7 separate regions of the Homo sapiens genome follow, and regions 1, 2, 3, 4, 5 and 7 are each linked to region 6. Evidence: promoter capture Hi-C in 16 types of primary human blood cells and fetal thymus (Javierre and others, 2016). All regions are on one chromosome and are shown on one strand. The core of a region is centred on a gene start or on the middle of the fragment in contact, and the rest is flanking DNA. Distances in the headings are between cores, read along the strand shown. Region 1 overlaps PTPRO (protein tyrosine phosphatase receptor type O). Region 2 has its middle 95 kb from the start of ATF7IP. Region 3 overlaps EPS8 (EGFR pathway substrate 8, signaling adaptor). Region 4 overlaps PTPRO (protein tyrosine phosphatase receptor type O). Region 5 holds the start of DERA (deoxyribose-phosphate aldolase). Region 6 holds the start of PDE6H (phosphodiesterase 6H). Region 7 has its middle 130 kb from the start of ATF7IP.

Evidence for each region. Contacts are between HindIII fragments. The CHiCAGO score rates a contact against its expected background, and 5 or more counts as called.
Region 1: a fragment that was not itself captured here is called in contact with the fragment with the promoter of PDE6H in region 6 in 1 of 17 cell types (M1 macrophages); the score reaches 5.2 in M1 macrophages.
Region 2: a contact is called between a fragment that was not itself captured here and the fragment with the promoter of PDE6H in region 6, in 1 of 17 cell types (neutrophils). The highest score is 6.2, in neutrophils.
Region 3: a contact is called between a fragment that was not itself captured here and the fragment with the promoter of PDE6H in region 6, in 1 of 17 cell types (M1 macrophages). The highest score is 5.1, in M1 macrophages.
Region 4: a contact is called between a fragment that was not itself captured here and the fragment with the promoter of PDE6H in region 6, in 1 of 17 cell types (M0 macrophages). The highest score is 5.2, in M0 macrophages.
Region 5: a contact is called between the fragment with the promoter of DERA here and the fragment with the promoter of PDE6H in region 6, in 6 of 17 cell types (naive CD8 T cells, total CD8 T cells, activated CD4 T cells and 3 more). The highest score is 7.2, in naive CD8 T cells.
Region 7: a fragment that was not itself captured here is called in contact with the fragment with the promoter of PDE6H in region 6 in 2 of 17 cell types (neutrophils and total CD8 T cells); the score reaches 11.9 in neutrophils.

What each region holds. Positions count from the first base shown.
Region 1 is chr12:15,543,838-15,546,837 of GRCh38, reverse strand. It overlaps PTPRO (protein tyrosine phosphatase receptor type O), which reads right to left. Exons shown (of 27, transcript NM_030667.3): 13 at 130-269. All of the region lies in intron 1 of LOC105369672 (a long non-coding RNA gene), which reads left to right. Among named protein-coding and RNA genes, the nearest start is that of PTPRO, 220 kb to the right of the region's middle. The HindIII fragment of the contact is 8,324 bases long and covers 1-3,000 here.
Region 2 is chr12:14,269,506-14,272,456 of GRCh38, reverse strand. No RefSeq gene overlaps it. Among named protein-coding and RNA genes, the nearest start is that of ATF7IP, 95 kb to the left of the region's middle. The HindIII fragment of the contact is 5,994 bases long and covers 1-2,951 here.
Region 3 is chr12:15,704,740-15,707,670 of GRCh38, reverse strand. The region is part of intron 1 of EPS8 (EGFR pathway substrate 8, signaling adaptor); the gene reads left to right. Among named protein-coding and RNA genes, the nearest start is that of EPS8, 83 kb to the left of the region's middle. The HindIII fragment of the contact is 979 bases long and covers 764-1,742 here.
Region 4 is chr12:15,583,299-15,586,250 of GRCh38, reverse strand. The region is part of intron 23 of PTPRO (protein tyrosine phosphatase receptor type O); the gene reads right to left. Among named protein-coding and RNA genes, the nearest start is that of EPS8, 200 kb to the left of the region's middle. The HindIII fragment of the contact is 2,025 bases long and covers 578-2,602 here.
Region 5 is chr12:15,910,073-15,912,814 of GRCh38, reverse strand. DERA (deoxyribose-phosphate aldolase) reads right to left here and starts at 1,483. Exons shown (of 9, transcript NM_015954.4): 1 at 1,401-1,483. The coding sequence starts at 1,431. RefSeq lists enhancers at 305-1,048, 1,049-1,793 and silencers at 1,196-1,545, 1,566-1,625. The HindIII fragment of the contact is 2,953 bases long and covers 1,199-2,742 here.
Region 6 is chr12:14,971,629-14,974,443 of GRCh38, reverse strand. PDE6H (phosphodiesterase 6H) reads right to left here and starts at 1,402. Exons shown (of 4, transcript NM_006205.3): 1 at 1,358-1,402. The HindIII fragment of the contact is 3,244 bases long and covers 1-2,815 here.
Region 7 is chr12:14,232,758-14,235,623 of GRCh38, reverse strand. No RefSeq gene overlaps it. Among named protein-coding and RNA genes, the nearest start is that of ATF7IP, 130 kb to the left of the region's middle. The HindIII fragment of the contact is 7,894 bases long and covers 1-2,866 here.

The DNA.
Region 1 (3,000 bases), core at 433-2,932, 570 kb before region 6:
TGAAACACAAAAGAGCAAATAAACAGTTTTCATTTTATATAGCTCAAAGAAATAGAAGATTCTTATTTTGCCCAGATAATTAGCCTTACTTAAGTTAACTGAGAAAAGGTAGATCAAAAGGTACAGTACCTGAAGTTTGGTTTTCTGACTGGAGCCAACTTGTTGACAGAAAACTTCAAAGAAATCAGCTACTCCCTCTTCCACCCACAGCAAAGTCACTGAAGTCTGGGTTTTGTTCACTGCGAAGAGTGATTTGGGTGGAGCTGGTTCTGAGCAAAGACAAAGTTTTAAAAAAAATTTAATTTACTAAGTGTATTCTTTCTTCTTTCACTAATAAGCAGGTGAAGCATCCCCCAATTCAAATATAGGTAGGTAAGAGCACCATAAAGACTTTATATTGCCTTTGAAATATGTCCTTTCATAAAGATAGCTATCTAACTTGGAAGGCAGAATACTTTGCCTTTTCCCCCTTCCATTTTTTTACTTCTCTTTTCAGAACACTTCTGTTTTCTACTTCAGTTTCATCATAGTCATAATCTATTAATAGTTTCTGTGTCATTTATACTGAAGTTAGCATTGCCCTGATAATACAGAACTTCCTGGATGAGAAACAAAAATCTGCACTTAATAAAGGTGGAGAAAAATGAAATTTGGTGTGCTTCCTTCTAATGATGAGATGCAGTTTGGTATTTAGCCAACAACCTGTCTTCCTTTCTCTGGAAACTATCTGGAACAATTCAGACAGAAAAATGGCTGCTTGAAAATTTAGTCAAAATTTAAAAAGATAAAGCTAAACAGATAGTATCATTTTTTTTTTTTTTTGAGGCGGGGGTCTCACTCTGTCACCCAGGCTGGAGTGCAGTAGTGCGAACACAGCTCACTGAAGCCTCATCTTCCCTGGCTCAAGTGATCCTCCTGCCTCGACTCCCAAGTAACTGGGACTACCTGGCTTATTTTTGCATTTTTTGCAGAGATGGAGTTTTGCCATGTTGCTCAAGTTGGTCTCAAACTCCTGGGCTCCAGCAATCCACCCACTTTGGCCTCCCAAAGTATTGGGATTACAGGTGTGAGCCACCGTGCCTGGCTGATAATATAATTTTTTAAGAAAAGAATTGATAGGAGGGGATTGGAAGATTAATAAAACATTAGATAAATTTTTTATCTTAGACATTTTATCTTAATAATAAATAAATCCATTCGTAAAGGAAGCTGTGTTGTCTGTCCTTTTCATACTTATTTCTAGTAATTGAGTCACTGGCATTGCTCTCTTGAGACCAAAAAACCCTGCCTGTTCCTCAATTCTAATAGTCATCTGCTGTCTCATTCTCCATTCCTGAATGTCTCCTGGTCTTCTGCTTGTGACCCTGTCTTTTGGATGTTGTCTTTCCCTCTAGGTCCCCCAGTATGCAGAGTGCTGTGCCTGAACTCAAGGTTTTAAGCTGGGGTCCCTGTTACCTGCTCTCAGACCCCCTGACATTGCTTATTTGGACATATTGTACCTTGCTGCTAGGTTCACATAACAGCATCCTCCATCCACCTATATGCGCCTGTCAGACGACTACCCACTGTTGTAGGTTTCTTCCTGCTTGTTACTTGGATTTTTCATTTTCTGCCCCACTCTCCTAAGTCTGTTCTCCAGCTCCTGTCCTTTAGAGGTGCTTGAAAAAGTCCTGTCAGCCATTTCACTGCTTTGACAGGTACACATCTTTGTGTGGAAAGATTTGAACCTTGTTTCTAGAATATCATCATTGTGACTCTGCCCAGGACCAAGAAGTATGTCAAAATCATTCTTGCCATGATTTATCACAGATCTCCTAAACTTGTGTCCAACTAAAAAGAAGCATGTTTCTTTCCTGCAGCAACTTGACAAGGTTAGGCAGAAGAGTTGAAGGAGGAAAGAGATGAGTTCTTCTTAGGCAAGCAAAATTCACAATAGGTGTCAGGAGCCCTTTTTCACTTGCAATGAATTGTCCAGTCCTCCAGGCATTGTATTGTCCCACTTCTGCTCTGAGGAAGACTGCTAATGAAACACAGAGGTCAATTTCCACTTCTCACTTCCTTTATAACTGCCTTTGCTAATAGGATTATGTCCTTTAGGGATTCTGACTCATGTGGAACTTGAATCTATAGAACCAAGTGTGAAGTTGTTTGGGGGCATAGATGAATGATTAGTTAGGCTGAGCCTAGGCTTTTCTTTTTTAAAAATGCACACTACAGAATTGTTCCTCAGTCACAATTCTGAGGCTCTTCCCTTATTTCTCAGTCCCAGAGAGCATATCTTTTAAAAACTCGTTACCTTTTCCTTTAATCTTTTTTTTTTTTTTTTTTTTTGAGATGGAGTCTCGCTCTGTCACCAGGCTGGAGTGCAGTGGTGGTGCAATCTCGGCTCACTGCAACCTCTGCCTCCCGGGTTCAAAAAATTCTCCTGCCTCAGCCTCCTGAGTAGCTGAGACTACAGGCGCATGCCACCATGCCCAGCTAATTTTTTTGTATTTTTAGTAGAGACAGGGTTTCACCATGTTGGCCAGGATGGTCTCGATCTCCTGACCTTGTGATCTGCCTGCCTCTGCCTCCCAAAGTGCTGGGAGCTGGGATTATAGGCATGAGCCACCACCCCCGGCCTCCTTTAATCTATTTTTAAATTATATTGCATGTCTAGACTTTTGTGATCACATTCATTGATCATCACAAACTTGCTGTGCCTCTTTTTCCCTGGCTCTAATCAATTCTTTCTTCATTTTGTCAACAACGGATTAAAATCACCTTAAAATGCCATTTCACTCATGTTAAATCCTATCTGTGCATTGTCTGTGGTATCACATCCAAACATACCATGTCTTTAAGATCCTGCTTAAACTGGCTGCATGCTATCCAACCAGCTTCACCACCATTCCTGACACACAGATGTGTTGCCTCCTGGGAAAGACAGTCTTCTCACTGAACTTCAGGGCAGTGCTCTATGTCAGCCCATGTTTGCCTTCAATCAGTATGCTCTTTATT
Region 2 (2,951 bases), core at 434-2,933, 700 kb after region 6:
TATAGGGAATCAGAGTCCTCATTTTTTTGGCCAGTGTGGAAGATCCTGTCAGTACCATGCTCATATCCCTGCAATACTTACTGTTTCTATATGTGCAGACGGTATCCTACTGCTAGTACATGATGCTGCCCGAGGGCTTTTCCTCAGTTCAGGTGTAGAGAAAGTCCTCAGCGCTGTAGAGTTAACACTCCTGGAAGCAACTATAAACTAATGACTGATAGTAATTAGAGGACAAACTCCAGCTTCCTCTTCCCCTCAGGTGGGACAGCTCCCACAGGTTCCCAGCATGACTGACCCTCGGTTGCCCCCATTGGTAACGTAATGGTCTAGGCTTCCCTCACTTCCCTGTCTTACTGCCCCTTTCCCCTGTCAGTGCTTCCTATGATCACCACTCAAACTACTTACATTTAAACCTTTTGCTTAGGGTTGGCTCCTAAAAGAATCTGGCAGAAGACAGCCTAATTATGGGGAAAGCACTCCTGCCCAAAATAATCGGCTAAATTTCTCCATTTTTTCAAGTTTCAAATTCTATCCATTAGGGGTGCATATGGGGGGCCAGGCATGGTGGCTCAAACCTATAATCCCAGTACTTTGGGAGGTTGAGGCAGGTGGATTTCTTGAGCCCAGGAGTTCGAGACCAGTCTAGGTGACATAGTGAGACCTCATCTCTGCAAAAAATACAAAAACTTGCCAGGTGTGGTGGTGCATTCCTGTAGTACCAGCTACTAAGCGGCTGAGGTGGGAAGATCGCTTGAGCCTAGGAGGTCAAGGCTGCAGTGAGCTGTGTTCATGCCACCGCACTCTGGCCTAGGTGACAAAGTGAGACCCTGTTTAAAAAAAAAAAGGGATGCATACGTGGTGTCAGGTGTCAATTTGGGAAATTCAGATACTCCTTGCAGGGTTATGAAGCAACCATCATTTTTTCCACCATATCTTAGGGAAAATGGTTGGTGACATTGCTTTCTTCTTATTACTATTTAATCTCACCCAAAATAATTGGCTAAAATTATTGGCTAAAATAATTGTCTGCTCAAAAGAATCATTAGCCATCATAAAGTAAGTAAATTCTCACTGCCTCATTCTGGGGCAGGCTCATGTCTGAAGGAGTGTGATCTCAAGTGTACATCTGCAATTTGGAATCGAAAGACTGCAATTTGAAGTTGAAATACAAATGGGCAGTGGCTGAACCATAGATAACAACAGAACTCTGACCCATGAAGGGGATCAGAACATGTTGCCCCCAAATACGCTGCTTTAGCATATTGATTATTTTGAACTGAAGGCAATTGAAAAACAGCAAATGGCCTCTTGACCTTCACTTTTCTTTTTTTTTCTTTTTCTTTTTTTTTTTTTTCGAGATGGAGTCTCACTCTGTCTCCCAGGGTGGAGTACAGTGGTGCCATCTCTGCAAGCTCCGCCTCCCAGGTTCACGCCATTCTCCTGCCTCAGCCTCCTGAGTAGCTGGGACTACAGGCACCGGCCACCATGCCTGGCTAATTTTTTGTATTTTTAGTAGAGACACAGTTTCACTGTGTTAGCCAGGATGGCCTCGATCTCCTGACCTCGTGATCTGCCTGCCTTGGCCTCCCAAACTGCTGGGATTACAGGTGTGAGCCACCACACCTGGCCTGACATACATTTCCCATGAGAAAGGTGCTCTCCCATAACCAGAAAGAAAACATTCTTATCAATGGAAATGGAGAATTGACACTGATTGTTTGTCTGCACAAACAAACCTTATTAATATAGCCCTTATCTTCCATTAGTTTTCCTCATATACTTCCTAGGTACTTTCCAAAAACTTACCACCTGTAGAAGCCCAAACCCCTGTCCTTTATCTACCTATGTCTTCACAATTTATTGCCTTTTGTTAAAATGGTATATAAACCTCTCTATCCACATGTTTTGAGGTTTTCACATCTTCTCTGTGAAGCCCTCCATGCCATATAAAAACATTAACACCAAATGAAATTGTATATGTTTTTCCTGTTGTAATATTTGTCAGTTTAATTTGCAGGCCCCAGGTACCTAATAACATAAGAGGGTAAAGTTCTTCCTTCCTTCATTGACAACATGCAGCAACCTATCCAGGAAACTAATCACTTATTTTCAATAGCCAACCAGTGAGACAGTCTGCTGTAAGTCAGATTTGTTGGGAGTCACAGATCTTTAGTGACAGTCTAAGAGGCCAAACAATAACAGTTGTTTCCTGTGACAACAAGCCAATATGGCCAGGACTTGATTAATAACTGACCGCTTTTCTAATTTTTGTCCCTGCTTCCAAATTAGGACCAATCAGAGGAAACCGGATGGGTGCAGTGGCTCATGCCTGTAATCCCAGCACTTTGGGAGGCTGAGGCAGGTGGATCACCTGAGGTCAGGAGTTTGAGACCAGCCTGGCCAATATGGTGAAACCCAGTCTCTACTAAAAAAAAATACAAAAATTAGCTGGGCATGGTGGCGCACGCCTGTAGTCCCAGCTACTCAGGAGGCTGAAGCAGGAGAATCGCCTGAACCCAGGAAGCAGAGGTTGCAGTGAGCCAAGATTGCGCCACTGTACTCCAGCCTGAGGACAGAGTGAGACTCTGTCTCAAAAAAAAAAAAAAAAAAAAAAAAATCAGAGAAAGCCAAATGTGTACCCCTAACCAATCACATAGGAATTCCTGTTTCTAGTTTGCCTGCTTACAGCTTCCTCATGCCAACAGCCTCTAACTGGGGCATAGTTGAAGCCTTTCCTTTTTCCTACAATAAAACTTTCCTACTCCTCTGCCTGCCTTGGAGTGTCTGCCAAAATACAAGTGACAGTGGTTGACTCCCTAGCTATAGCAATCTCTGAATAAATAGAATTTGCTTGTTCTCATTTGGTTTGTCTTAGTTTTTTTCCACATTCTGTCCACCCTTGTAACTTTCTATTTGGGGGACTTGTATTTGATATTATGCCTTATTCTCTC
Region 3 (2,931 bases), core at 4-2,503, 730 kb before region 6:
AAATCACTAGTAGTAATACGCTCAGAAATCAGAGGGAAGAGCAAGGCGATACCAGAGGAAGACTTCGGAAGGATTTATTTGTATTTGTTTTGTAGCATGTGATTTTTTTTTTTTTTAAGGTAGTGAGTTACCTTACAGGCCCTTACAGATAAGCAAGTACTTGATTAGTGTTTGTTATACTGAAAGCTTAATAAATAGTAAGGAGAGTAGTTGTTCAGTTGGGTATTGATTAAGGTGAAGTAATAGGAAAAGTAAGGGTAGAATCGATGAGTAATGATGAACTCAAAGCAGAGGGTCAGCAAACTCTAGCCATTGGGCTGTTTTCTTTCTACAAGCTGAGAATGCTTTTTACATTTTTGGTAGGTTATTAAAAACAAAAATGAAGAATATTGACAGAGACTGTATGTGGCCCACAAAGCCTAAAATATTTATAACCTGGCTCTTTACCGAAAGTTTGTCAACCCCTGACCTGAAATACATACCATGAAGAAAAAAGTTAGACTTGTTCCCTTTTAGGAAATTGGATTAGGTACTGTAAAGTGTAATATTTCATGGGGCTACATTTTCAAACATGTGCCTTTTTCCCACATGGAGGAAAGAACTGTCATGTATTTAGCCTGCTCTTTTGCTATAGGGGTTTTGCATACTTCGATTGTTCTTAACCTTGAGAGATACTATAACCACTTTACAAATGAAGAAACTAGGCTCATAGAGGCTAAGTAAGCCTAAAGTTTTACATTTAATAAGGACTGAAATGTAAGCTTGTCTGGCTTGCTAACTAGATATCAAATATGGGCATTTGTATAAATTTAGTTAGTATGTAAAATAGAAAAAAAACTTGTACACATAGACAATAGAGTAGGTTGGAGAATTGTGTCATTTTATTACAAAATTTGCCCAAGGAAGAATATCTTTGGATAAGTTGTAAAAAAAAACATAAAATATAAAGAACAGAAAATTCTAGTCTCATATTAAAAATGTAATATTCACCTAAAAGAAAGATGAGATTCAAGATGTTTTTGAAAGAAAATGCAAAATACAAAAGTGTGTTTTGCTTCAATAGAAAGTATACCAGCTAGTACTTTATTTTTGAAATGCAGATATTAAGCAAATATTGGCCCAAATGTCTAACAGTAAAGATTTATGAAGAGAATTTCAGAGTGCTGTGAAAACATGTAATGTAGAAATCTAGGATAGATTGGGAGTCAGGGAATGGTTTCCCAAGAAGGGGCCATTTAAGCTGAGATACAAGATTTAGATAGGCAAAGATATAAAAGATAATTATTCTAGACAAGTGTGATAGGCCTCGAGGAAGGAAGAACTTGGCATTGTCAATGCTGCAGTGCTTCCCGCCTTGCCTTTTGAATCCCAGGTTCCACGCAGGAAAAGGCAAGGCCAGGCTCCTCCCCTCTGCAAAGGTGCAAACTTGCTCAGGCTCCACCCCAGTGCACAGGCCGGCAGGAGCTTTGCCAGGGATCCCCTCCCACTTAGCTGTCTCAATGGGAGGGACCATTTTACAAGATGTTTACCATACTGGTTTGCAGAATTAGAGAGAGTAACCTTAGGTGAGGAGAAGACTGGGATTTGGAGACAGAAGGAAAGAAAATAGATTCAGGGTCATTCTTGAATGTTAGCCTTCTTTGAGTTAAAAAAAAAATAGCTGATAGGTGGTAGCAGCAACACATGTGCCTCTGATTGTACAAGAATTTAATAATGATACTTGTGTATGTTTTACATAAGCTTAAACTTTAGTGAACTTTAGTTAATGATATCAAACATTGAGGGTTTTAATGTCTTTCTACTGGATATCATAAGTCTGTTTTTCCTTACGAAAAGGGTAATATTGGCTAGCCGTTGAGGTTAGTGTTTGCTAAGAGTTGGAAGTTTTGAACAGTGAGGAAAACAATGTCACTGGGCTCATTTCCAAGAGGGTATTCTAACTATTGCAGTCAACAACTGATTTGCCATAAAATGTCAATAACTTTTTAAAAGGAAGGTACATTCATGTGTTTATTTTGCTTTTTAAATGAGTGTTAAGTACTTTAATTAGCATCATTTTATAATTATTGATATTTTGTATGGGATTTAATAATGGATTAGTTAATTATGAAAACAAGATCTAAATGTTTTCTTCTCCAATTGCCGTTAAAATTTGTTGAAATCACCTTATTGAACAGATTTTTTTTAAACCCCTTGGAGTACTAGTGGGTGTTATTTTGTTGAATGAATGTTTTACCCAAACTTATATGCATATTAGATTGTTTAAAAGCTCAATTAAAAAGTGAAAAATAGACACTGAAAATTTTTTGAGTGATTTCACATGTGTTCATGAAACAATATATCTATTACAAATCATTGAATATTTTAAAAGTAATGTCATGTATTCATTTTCTTATTTTATCTCCTCAGTAGACTGAGATCAGTGTGTAGGGGTGAAGCAAGGAGTCCTACTCTGTTTGACTAAGGTAAAAATTAAGAATCAGTGAGAAATGGAATTTGCAAAAGTGCCTGCCAGATAATGTTAGAACTGGACCAGAAAATAGGAGTTGGTATAAAACTAGACCAGCGAGCTTTTTTTTCCTTCAAGATGCAGTTCAGTTTATTGCTTTTGTAAATTAGAGATTGTGTTTCTTGATCTTTATTAAAGTAGAATACAATGTTAACCTACTTCAAATTTTAAAAAATATACACACATGTATATGTATGTGTGTGTGTATATACACACAGGATTTTAAGGACAGTTTTTTGTGTGTGTGTGTGCATGCGCACGCATGCCAAGGAAATTGTTAATCTTCTAGTACATCCCCATAACAGAGGCAGCTACAATAAGATCTAGTCTTTGCCTTACAGACCAGGTGGCTTTACCTGATAGGCTCACAGACATTCAGTAGTTCATTTGTTCCTCAGATTTCTCTAATTATTGTGATAAAG
Region 4 (2,952 bases), core at 341-2,840, 610 kb before region 6:
TCTGCTTCCCTTGCTCCCTTATGGGCTTTCCCTAAGAATGCACTTTCACAAAATCACTTATATGAGAATCCTTGTCTTGGGCTTTGATACTAGAGGACTTGACTCACTGAGCTTCAGTTTTCTCATATCTAAAAATGGCCTAATGATACTTATAACAAGAGTTGTTGTGTGAATTAAGTGTAATCATGTGTGTGATATTACTACTTACTAGTACCTCATTACCATCACTCACCGTCATCCAGCTCCGTGCAATTGTATGGTTGATTCTGGGAGTCCCCAGTAAGTGAGTATAACTTGTATATTTTCCTATTCCTATTAACCCATACATCAAATATATTGTTGTTCTCTCTGAACTGAGTACATATTAACTAGAATGTATATCTTTCCAGATCAACTCTTTTTAGTCCCAACTAACTTGTAAGAGTTACATATTCTCCACTTGTTATCAGCCATCAGAAATATCCCAAACCCAGGCTTCATAAAGGTCTGATTCATCCCTCAGTTCTCAAACTTGTGAAGAGCCTAGAATTCACTCAGAGGCTGGAATACTATATCATAACTGGGAAGGAGGGAAGCTTGGCCTCGCTGTCAGTTTTGAGCTAAAATTTAAGTTCAGGTATTGAAAGAGAAATGAATTTCAAAGAGTCAGTGGTCTTGGACAGAAAATAAACGTATAAAGACAATTCATAAATAAAATGTATAAATAAATATGTAAGATTTGTTTAAATATACATAAGTTATCACCTCCCCTACACCCATTGTACCCTTGGCACCTAATATATCCCCAGCAGCATGCAGTGCCTCCCCTACTATGTTCAAGGGCTCTGGCTTAGACACACAGAACATGAAGTCTACAAAGACGCTGGCTACCCTCACTGCTCTCTTCAGGAAGTATGTTGAGAAACTATCTTGGGCATAAAGAATTGTGCAGAATAATTTACTTATTCAACATCATGAGGATTTAAGAATACTCAGCCACCAGATAACTTTGGTTGCCAGGAAAGTTCAGGAAAATGCTTGCCCTGTTTAAATGCTGATCATAATTTGTATAACATGTGTACATTGTAGCCAATATATATATTCCAGTACGGTTGAAGTGAAAATGTATTCAGTTAAAAAGTGCAAGGTGATTTAAAATCAGGAAATCATTAAATTGTAGTTAGTTTCTCCGCAGCTACACGGCAGGGGTCCTGGAACTGGGGTCAGCCCTGTGAGCTGAATAGCAGGGCACAAAGTCCCTGGCAACAAACACGTTTTTGATGATCTTTAGTCTCCAGCTCTCACTCAGTTGATGCCAAATTTCAAGTAGTAGAAAGTGACAAGTTGTGTGTTATGGTCATTTCTCTCCTTTCTTGTTAAAGGAGAAAACTCTTCTGGTTTTATCTTACTTAGCTATTCCTAAATTTCTCTTACCTTGAGTTCCTTATTTATGTAATTTTATCTTTTTATAATTGGAAAGTTTCCACATATCAATATGGAATGGATAAAGAAGGGTATAAACAAAAAATGAAACAAATTGAAAAATATATTAATTAGCATAGCACAATGTTCTTTGGGCAACTTAGCCTTCATTGTAGCTTAACATTTAGATTCATTATGCTTATGGCCAAAAGGGGGCACTCTGGTACCAGACGCTTGTAACAAGTAAATTCCTTACAAACAAACACTACTGTTCAATGTTTTATTCCTATTTTTCAAGTCCTTCACATGATTGTCATTGAAAGATAGGTCATCACTTAAGACCAAGGACAAGAAGCATAGTACTGACCAAGCAATAATCTATGTGACTCTTCTTTGTCAACAGAATAGGCAATGGAACAGACCCTATTTTGTGCTCTGAAATTTTTTCTACTACGTGCAAACCTAGGGACAGATTTGTACTGTATTTGGTTATCAGTTTGCACTGGCTTTTCAATTGAAATATCTAAGAACAAAAAACAGAGTTCAAATGGCATTTGGATTGACAAATATTTTCTCTGACGGAAAGTCTATTGATGCTTTACAAGTGCCTTATTATTTTTGAAATAACTCATTCATTCACTGATTTATTCATTCCACAGGGATACAGCACTTGCTTCTGAAACTCACAGTATACTGGGGAGGCAGACACAAGAAGCGAGAATTGTAACTATCTATGGTGTGCTGTGATAAAGCAGCTTACTTAAGACTCTGCCCCAGAGAAGGAATGGGCTAACGGTGTCCAAGCCCAGAGAAGACGCCACAAAGGGGGTGACACTTAAGCTGAAACTCTGCATTTGAGTAAAAACGTGCTTAACAAGGAAGCAATGTGAATTTTAAATGACCGAAACAACACGAAACACAGCCTGTTAGAGTCATACGGGGATTTGCCTGAATTCTCCTGGTCATAAAAGACATTGTTAACTGCCAGTTAACAAGTGGCAATTAACAATGGCTAAGAAGTGATTTATCTCCTGTAGAGATCAATCAGTAGGTAGTATCAAGTTCTAACGTTGTATTGATACGGGCAATCTTTGTTTCCATTGCCTATTTTAAGGGTCAGCAAACATTTTCTGCAAAGAGACAGTTAGTAAATATTTTAGTTTTTGCAGATCATATAGTTTTGGTTGCAGCTACTCAAGCTTGATGTAGCACAAAAGCAGTCATAGACAATTCGTCAACAATGCAGGCTGTGTTCTAATAAAATGTTATATATGGACATTGAAATTTGAATTTCACATAATTTACATATAGCATTTCACATAAAATACTATTTTTCTTGTTGATTTTTTTTGTGTGTGTGTGTGTGTGTGGAGATAGAGTCTTGCTCTTGTTGCCCAGGCTGAAGTGTAGTGGCACAATCTTGGCTCACTGCAACCTCCACCTACGGGGCTCAAGTGATTCCCCCACCTCAGCCTCTTGAGTAGCTGGGACTACAGGTGTGTACCACTACACCAGCTAATTTTTGAATTTTTAGTCAGATGGGATCTCCCT
Region 5 (2,742 bases), core at 234-2,733, 940 kb before region 6:
GAACACCTCTTGGAAGTGCAGACTGTTTAAGTACCAGTCACTTTTAAGGAGGGCGAAAAGGACCTACCTGTATGTGTTACATATAATTTACAGCCAATTTTCTCAAAATTAGCCCCTAAAACCATAACTCCATATACTAATACTATCTATACTGAAGACTTACTAGGTGTCCACAATATACCAAACTACTTTACATGTATCCTATTTAATCTCCTAACGGCCTTATAAGGTAACTACCACTAAAATAACCATTTTACAGATGAAGAAACTTAAGCGCAAAGTTATTAATTTGTCCGAAGTCACACAGGTAAGAAGTTAAAGATCCTGGATACACAGATATCCAAGCTATAATACTTAAACGAGACGCTTAAACCTTCTCTTGATCATGGTTTTGCTGTTTGAATTATAAATTTTTCACATGTTAAGAAATCTGAAGAAAAATTCTCTTCTGCCTTGGGATCCTGTTGATCTGTGACCTTATCCCCAACCCTGTGCTCTCTGAAACATGTGCTGTGTCCACTCAGGGTTAAATGGATTAAGGGCGGTGCAAGATGTGCTTTGTTAAACAGATGCTTGAAGGCAGCATGCTCGTTAAGAGTCATCACCACTCCCTAATCTTAAGTACCCAGGGACACAAACACTGCGGAAGGCCGCAGGGTCCTCTGCCTAGGAAAACCAGAGACCTTTGTTCACTTGTTTATCAGCTGACCTTCCCTCCACTACTGTCCTATGACCCTGCCAAATCCCCCTCTGCGAGAAACACCCAAGAATGATCAATAAAAAAAAAAAAAAAAGAAATCTGAACTAAGGTTTCTTGCCAGTATTTGAACAATATAAAAAAAGATGAAAACTGGGAAATAATACAGGTACTTTAACAAATCTTTGTAACTCTAAAATCCCATGAATCTGCAGTGTTACATTTTGAGCACAGACGGCTGACAACTTTTCCACGAGCACGGCCACTTCAAGGTTACGGTTAAAATTATCTACGGAAATACTGCATTAAATTACACAAGTATTCTATTAAAAGGAGGAGAAAGAAGGTTTTTATCTGTTTTTACCTGCTTGGGGGTTGTTTGTTTTGGGTTTTGTTTTTTGGGTTGTTGGGTTTTCCAACCAGCGAGCTAGAGTGAACGAAAAGGCAGGAAGATAATAATCTAACCCTTTCCTACTCCTTCCGCATACAAGAGTAAAAGCTTAGGTGCAAAGACAAGCGGCGCGAACGTGCCGGGTTCGGCCTTTACTTGGGGTGAGGGCTGACCAGACGCCACTGCTTCCCGCCCCAGCGAAAACCCCTCGGGGACCCACAGCCAGGGCACTGGGCGGCAGCAGGCCCCGCGCTAGTCCCGGCGGCGCTGAACGCGAGGGAGAGGGGATGGGGAGCCCCGCGGGCCCCTTACCGAGCTCGGTGCCCCGATTGTGCGCGGACATGGCGCGGGCAGCTCCGGAGCTGCCGGCTGGTAGGCGCCCGCCTCTGCGCCGCGCCCGGCCCTTCCTCCTTCCCGCCAGCTGGAGCGCTCGCCCCGCCCCTGCCCGCTCCCGGGGCGGAGTCGCGGGCCCGGGCTACGAGGTCTGTACCCTAGGAATATTGCTCCGCAAGGAAATCTCGCTGCTCCCCTCCCCCGTCTTCTCCACGAGGTACCGAACCGGAGCGCTAAGTAGCTCCCGGAAATAATGCTACCAACACCCTTTAAAAAATACTGAAGTTGCCAATTGCACGTAATAAAAATATTCCTAGAAACTTTTAACTGTAAGATTATATAACAAGAAGGAAGAAGATCCAAGTGCAGAGCTCTGCAACTTAAGGTCTGAAATGTCAGCAGGGATCCCATATCCTTGTTAGGGAAACCAAGGTGCAATCAAGGGCCCCGGGGCACACTGACTTTTCTAATCTACACATCATGAAAAGAAGCAGCTATGTGGCCTGAAGAAGGCAAGGGCTTAGGAGTCAGAAGACCTGGTTTCTTAGCCAAGCTCGGGCAATAATTAAATGTGTGACCCTGGGCAAATTAACTGCTTTTCCGAGCTTCATTTTTCTCATCTGTAAAAGAAGACCTTGACAATTTCTTGGTTCTTCAAAATACTATGATTCTATAAAGGTAAAATGCTTCAGCCTGATTTCTCTGTGACCAAGAGGTTAAAATCGTCGAGTCACTCCACAATCTCAATATAGTTAACTTATCTGTACTCACGTTTAGAGGCACCTCTGCTATGAAAACAGTACAGTTAGTTATGATTTGTCTACCATGAGCCAGTTATTGTGCTAGGTGCTTTCATACATCATATATAGATGTATGATAGCATTTGAGTCTCTGAACAATCCTGCCAATAATGTATTTTATCTCCATTGCTGTAACTTTAGACATCAAAGTTCTGAATAGAAAGGCATCCTGGTATAGGGGAAATACAGTGAGCTCAAAATGAGCTGAACCCATTAATATACCAGCTCTTCCATTTAATAAATGTAACTTGGCAGTTCTGGAAATAATAGTCTGTCTACTTACCTGTAAAGTGGAGATGATCAAAATATGTTCACCTTGCAAAGCTGTTGAATGTATGCAAGGCACCTAGTACATAACATGGCATACAGTAGATACTTAAAAAATGGAAGCTGTTAATGTTATTGTCAAGTTCACACAGTAATTACTGAGCTGTTTTAAATAGGAATAGTAATATTTGTATACTCCTCTACATTGAGCTTTCAGCCTTGTCCACACACAGCCACTGTTGAATGTTTCGGAT
Region 6 (2,815 bases), core at 153-2,652:
CCTAATGGTGCTCAGGATTTGCACTAGGTAACCGGAACAGTCGACTAATCCCTATGCAGTTTCTGTCATAGATTTACCCTCCAATTCTCTCTGCAAAACCTTTAGGAAGGGTAGAACACCTCTGACCTTTTCCTGCATTGGAAGCCAGTCCTGTTGTCCATAAACATCACCAAAGGCTAACCTCATGCTGACCACACCTTTCTAGAAATTCTAAGGGCATCTGGAGCTGAGTAACCTTAAATGTATTATCAGACTTGATTTTAGCTGAAAGAAGTTTCATATTTTTTCCTCCAAAAGCATTAGGCAATTTATTCTTTTGTGAGCCAGAACATTTTCCTGTATTTAAAGCAATGTTAGCCCTTCCCCTTTTGAAGATTACAAACTGTTTTTCTGCAGAAATAAGTGGATGCAGCAAAGTAATATTTCAAGGCATACTTTTTTAGGGGACTGGGATTAGGGTCAACTTAACAAAGTTAAAGATTTGTATAAAGCAAAAAATCATCTTCTGTTTCTTTATACAGCAAAGCCCAGCTCTATATAGTGACAGAGGATGATCCTCTGAAAAGCAGTTTTAGGAGGTTCCTGAGACAGCTCTCTGATGCTGCTGTTATCACCTTACACTTCCAGTTCTCTTTTTCTCAGCAAAGCTATAGACAGGTAGACCAGTCCATTGTTGGTGGACAAAGAAAGAGGCAGGAAGGAGCTGGGAAGGGAAGTACTGCTGGGGTTGAGCCCATAAATATCACCCAGGGTCCTGCTGAGGCAGAGAAAATCAATAATTTGAAAAGCAAAGCAAGACCCAAACCAAAGCCATAAAAAAAAAATTACCAAAATTCCAGCCAGCACCCTGCTTCAGAATGGAACAAACACTTGACCTCAAAGGGAGAAGGCTCAGCCACCTGCCCTGCCCTGTGGTCATTCTCATGCTCTCAGCTCCCCTTCTCCTTTTCCTCACACTCACACCATCCTGGGCCAAGTTTGCAGGCACATCCTGGGAGTAAAGAACTGTTTTCTCTGTGGTTATTTAGTGCCACAGATTCCTCCTTCTTCAGAAAACTGTTTACTATGAAGCTGCAAACAGGGAGGTCACTATTGGGCTCCTTCTAAATGAATTCAGTAATCAAGTTTTGCAGTGACCTTGTAATAATCAAGTTTCACTTATTTGCTTGTCCCATGGCATAACAAGAAGGTCTGCATGTATCTCCTTCATGTTCTTTCCCATTTTCATCCCCAGCCACAGCCCAGGCCCACAGGTCCAACATGTTTTCTTCTGCAATTTTTCTTTTGGAACCTGATCAACCCCCCAAAGCCCTTCAATTATCCTGCTCAAATTCACCAGAAGTTCAGAAGTACTCACGGAGCTGAATGTTGTTCCTATCAGCTGCCCAGCTGCCTTCTTTGCAAAAGACAAAAGGATCTTTGCATCCTGACTTATCTCTCTGTAATACCCTCATGCTGCCTAATCTCACCGTCATAAGCTCAGAACAGCAACCCAGGTGCAAAGAAGTTAGGAGAACATGGGTTGATGCTGGGACAGGCTTAGGAGTTTTCCAATAATTAGAGGCCCTTTCAAAACTGACTTGGGTTCATTCCAGTCAATAAATAGGTATTGTATTCACAAAAACACAAAAAGTGTTGATATCCAAGGGTAAATTTCAGTTTGTGATTCAATATCTTCTGTCTTTTTTTTATTCTTACCTTTAGATTTCAATACCCCCATTTCTTCCCTTTCTCTGACAAACACACACCTATGTGCGCAATCACACACACACATATACACAGTGACATAATTCTTATGGGGCTCTAGATAACTGGAGAGAAGAGAGGGAGCCACAGTGCCTCCTGCTATACAGGGACATTGAACATGCGGGCAGTGACATTGGGAAACACACAGTATGTCTCCCTAACTGGTATTGTGCGAATTTCCTCAGAGAGATGGAACCTCAGAGTCAAAACTGATATCTGACACAGAAAGGGCCCAAATGACAGCTAGGAATTGTTAACTGAGGACACTTATTTGAGAATCGATTGCTGGATCTTCCGTACCTAAATGTTTCAGGGTGTAGGGTCTAGGGTACAATCCAATTTACTGAGACTCCTTGACTCAGTCTTCCTATTTTATTGATCCACTAGTATTAATTATTAATAGATTAATACTTTTTGTATTTTAAATAGATCTCAACCCATATGGTAGTTATCAGTAAGCTCTTTTGATAAATTTATCATAGAAAGATTAAGTGACCTATTCAAGACTGCAAATAAAATTAATAGTGGAGCCAGGAACAGGGCCCAAATCTGGAAGTACCTTGCATATTCAATTGTCTTTGTGCTGCACTACATCAAAGCAGACAGAGACCAAGATGTCTGTTTGCTGGTCACTTCCATGCCTTGCCAGTGAATTTCAATGTTCTTTCCCCAGTTGTTACCTATTAGAAAATTACACTCCATAACATTACAGAGAAAGAAGGTCAATTTATCCTTTCTAGACAGGGAGAGGTTCTTAACCTGCAGCCCTAAGCAGATTACATGAGCAACTAGACAGCTTGAGAGTCATTCATATGCTCTCCACTGGTCTTTACCAAAATTCCTCTGAGTTTTGAAAGCAATGATTACCTTGCAAAGCCAGGAAAGTGTTTGGTCTCTGGATGAGTCCCTCTGCTCCCTCCTCTGTATCTCCATTACCATTCACATCTTCCTTTACTATTACATACCAGGCACGTTAATGTTCAGATGCTTATCTGTCAAACTTTTACATATTCTCCATTTTCTTGATGAAAGAATACAAATTTTAAGGACAGTGGAAAGTGCCAAAAGC
Region 7 (2,866 bases), core at 28-2,527, 740 kb after region 6:
CATTAGAGGTTGTAATGGGAATTGATGGTGCAACTGCATGGAGGCAGAGGTTCGGTTCTCATGGTGTATGAGAAAGCACATAGTGTCTACGAGTAACCTTTCACTGTTATTCATGGGGCTGGGTATAAGCAAGCAAGAGGAGGGGCTAGGAGGAGAGTCAGATGAGCAGGGGGAGGGTAGCCAAGGCTGGAGTGAGATGCAGGGTAGGTGTCTTCCTAAACAATAGTGACTGCCAATGTTTTTTAGTTTGTCAGTAATGATAGAGGCTTATCAGTAATGTGAAGTTGGAATGCTCCCATCTGTTTGGTAATGTGTGTGGCTGGGTTCTGGAGATAAAGAGTAAAGGAACATTTGGACGGTGGAAGGTTGTCTAAAGGGATTCCAGTAGGCTGTTGTCAGGAGATGCATAAAGGAATGGCAATAGGGATAGTTGTTTGTGTGGTTAGGGGTCCAAATATGGGGGCAAGGGTGGAATTGACATAAGGAGAAAGGTGCCATAAGTAGATGTTGAGAAGTGTGGCAGCTCGTTGGTGCGAAATGTCTGGGGAGTTCTCACCTAATCTGTCTAGAAAGTAAAGAAGTTCCTCAGATGGGTAAAGATGAGGGCTATTAAAGGAAGGTTGGAGGTGCAGGGAGACAGGAGAGGTAGCCCAGTTGGCCTGTAGAGCGGGGATGGCTGTATAAGAGCAGGAAGAAAGGGAAATGCATAGCCAACAATTCTTTGCTAGAGAAGGATTGGAGGCAGTGAGGAGAGAGTGGGTGAGATTGATAGTATGCTGGAGGTAACTAGGGAGAGGTAGAGAGTGACTGGAGAATGGGGGCAAGGATAAGAGTGAGTAGAAAAGTAAAAAAAGGACTTCATCAGGATAGAATTGGAGTGTACCTTGCCACTGAAGATCTTCTATCCACTCCAAGAGAGAGTTAAGGGTGGTGGTTTGAGGTAAAACCAGGAGATATCAGTTATGATGGTTTGGAGGAAAAGTGTAAACTGGCAGTGTAAACAAGGGCAGGGCATTTGCGAGTAGTTGAGAATGGTGAATAGGAGTATGATTAGACAGAAGATAGTAGGAATGACAAGTTTTTGGGGTGCAGTCCAAGTAGTGGGGGTGATTGCGTAAAGCCCTGTTGTAAAAAGCAGGGTAAGGACCAATAGACCTAATAGAATGAAGGGATGTATTAGGCTCATAAGGGTTATTACTGTTCTTCAGAAATGTGAGTTTAAGGGAAGTAGGGGAGAGTACTTGTGACTTCCAAGAGGAAGAGGAGAGATCAGGCTGGCTGTCCGAGGGACACAGCTTTATTCTGGAATGGTGAACCCAATGGGGAGGGTCCTGCAGGTGGATGGCAATTGGGGTACTATAGATGACTAAGTAGGGTCCGGTCCGTCAAGGTTGTAGAGTTTGAGGGGTCAGATTTGTAACAAGAACTGATCATCCAGCTAGGGTGTCTTCATATAGCTGGGAGTCTGGAGTAGGCAAGAGAAGATTAGCAGCCTGGTGAATTTCCTGTCTAGCCTGCTGGAGGACTGGAAGACAGTCACCTAGAGGGCTGGTGTCTGTCACGAGGTTGGGGCTGAACAAGAAGGTACGTCCATATATTGAATAAGGTGAGAAACAGATGGACGGAAAGAAAGTAAATTATGAAAAAGAGCTTGACTAAAGTAATGGGGGCTGTCTCTGAAGCCTTGCAGCAGTACAGTCCAGGTGGGTTGCTGAGATTGGTGGGTGTCAGGGTCAGCCCATGTGAAAGCAAAAAGAGGTTGGGATGAGGGGTGCAAAGGAATAGTGAAGAAAGCATCTTTGAGGTCAATAATGGAGTAATGAGTTGTGGAGGGAGGTATTGAGGATAGGAGAGTTTATTGGTTTGGCACCACAGGATGGATAGGTAAGACAATTAAGTTAATAAGGCGAAGATCCTGAACCAACCTGTAAGACTCGTCCGGTTTCTGGATGGGTAGGATAGGGGAGTTGTAAGGAGAATCTGTAGGCTTTAAGAGGCCATGTGGTAACAGGCGGGTGATAACAGGCTTTAACCCTTTTAAAGCCTGCTGTGGGATGGGATATTGGCATTGAGTGGGGTAAGGGTGATTAGGTTTTAATGGGATGGTAAAGGGTGCCTGATCGGTCACCAAGGAGGGAGTAGAGGTATCCCATATTTGTGGATTAAGGTAGGGAGACATGAGAGGAGGATGTGAAGGAGGCTTTGAACTGGGGAAAAGGGTGGCAATAAGGTGTGGCTATAGCCCAGGAATAGTCAGGGAAGCAGATAATTTAGTTAAAATGTCTCGACCTAATAAGGGAGCTGGGCAGGTGGGGATAACTAAAAAGGAGTGCATAAAATAATGTCCAAGTTGGCACCAGAGTTGGGAAGTTTTAAGAGGTTTAGAAGCCTGGCCATCAATACCAACAACAGTTATGGAGGCAAGGGAAACAGGCCCTTGAAAAGAAGGTAATGTGGAGTGGATAGCCTCCATATTGATGAAGAAGGGGACGGATTTACCCTCCACTGTACGAGTTACCCAAAGTGTCTGTGATGGTCCAGGAGGCTTCCAAGGTAATCGGCAGTGTCAGTCTTCAGCCGCTGAGCTGAGAAGATCTGGGAAGGAGTCAGTCAGAGAGCCTGGGGCCAGAGTTCCAGGGGCTCTGGGAGTGGCTGCCAGGCGAGTTGGACAGTCTCATTTCCAGTGGGGTCCCGCACAGATGGGACACGGCTTAGGAGGAATCCTGGGCTGCGGGCATTCCTTGGCCCAGTGGCCAGATTTCTGGCACTTGAAGCAAGATCCTGGGGGAGGAGGTCCTGGAGGAACGCCTGGCTGGTGTGGTTTAGGCATTTTGAAGTTCTTGTATGCTGGAGATATGGCTGGGGT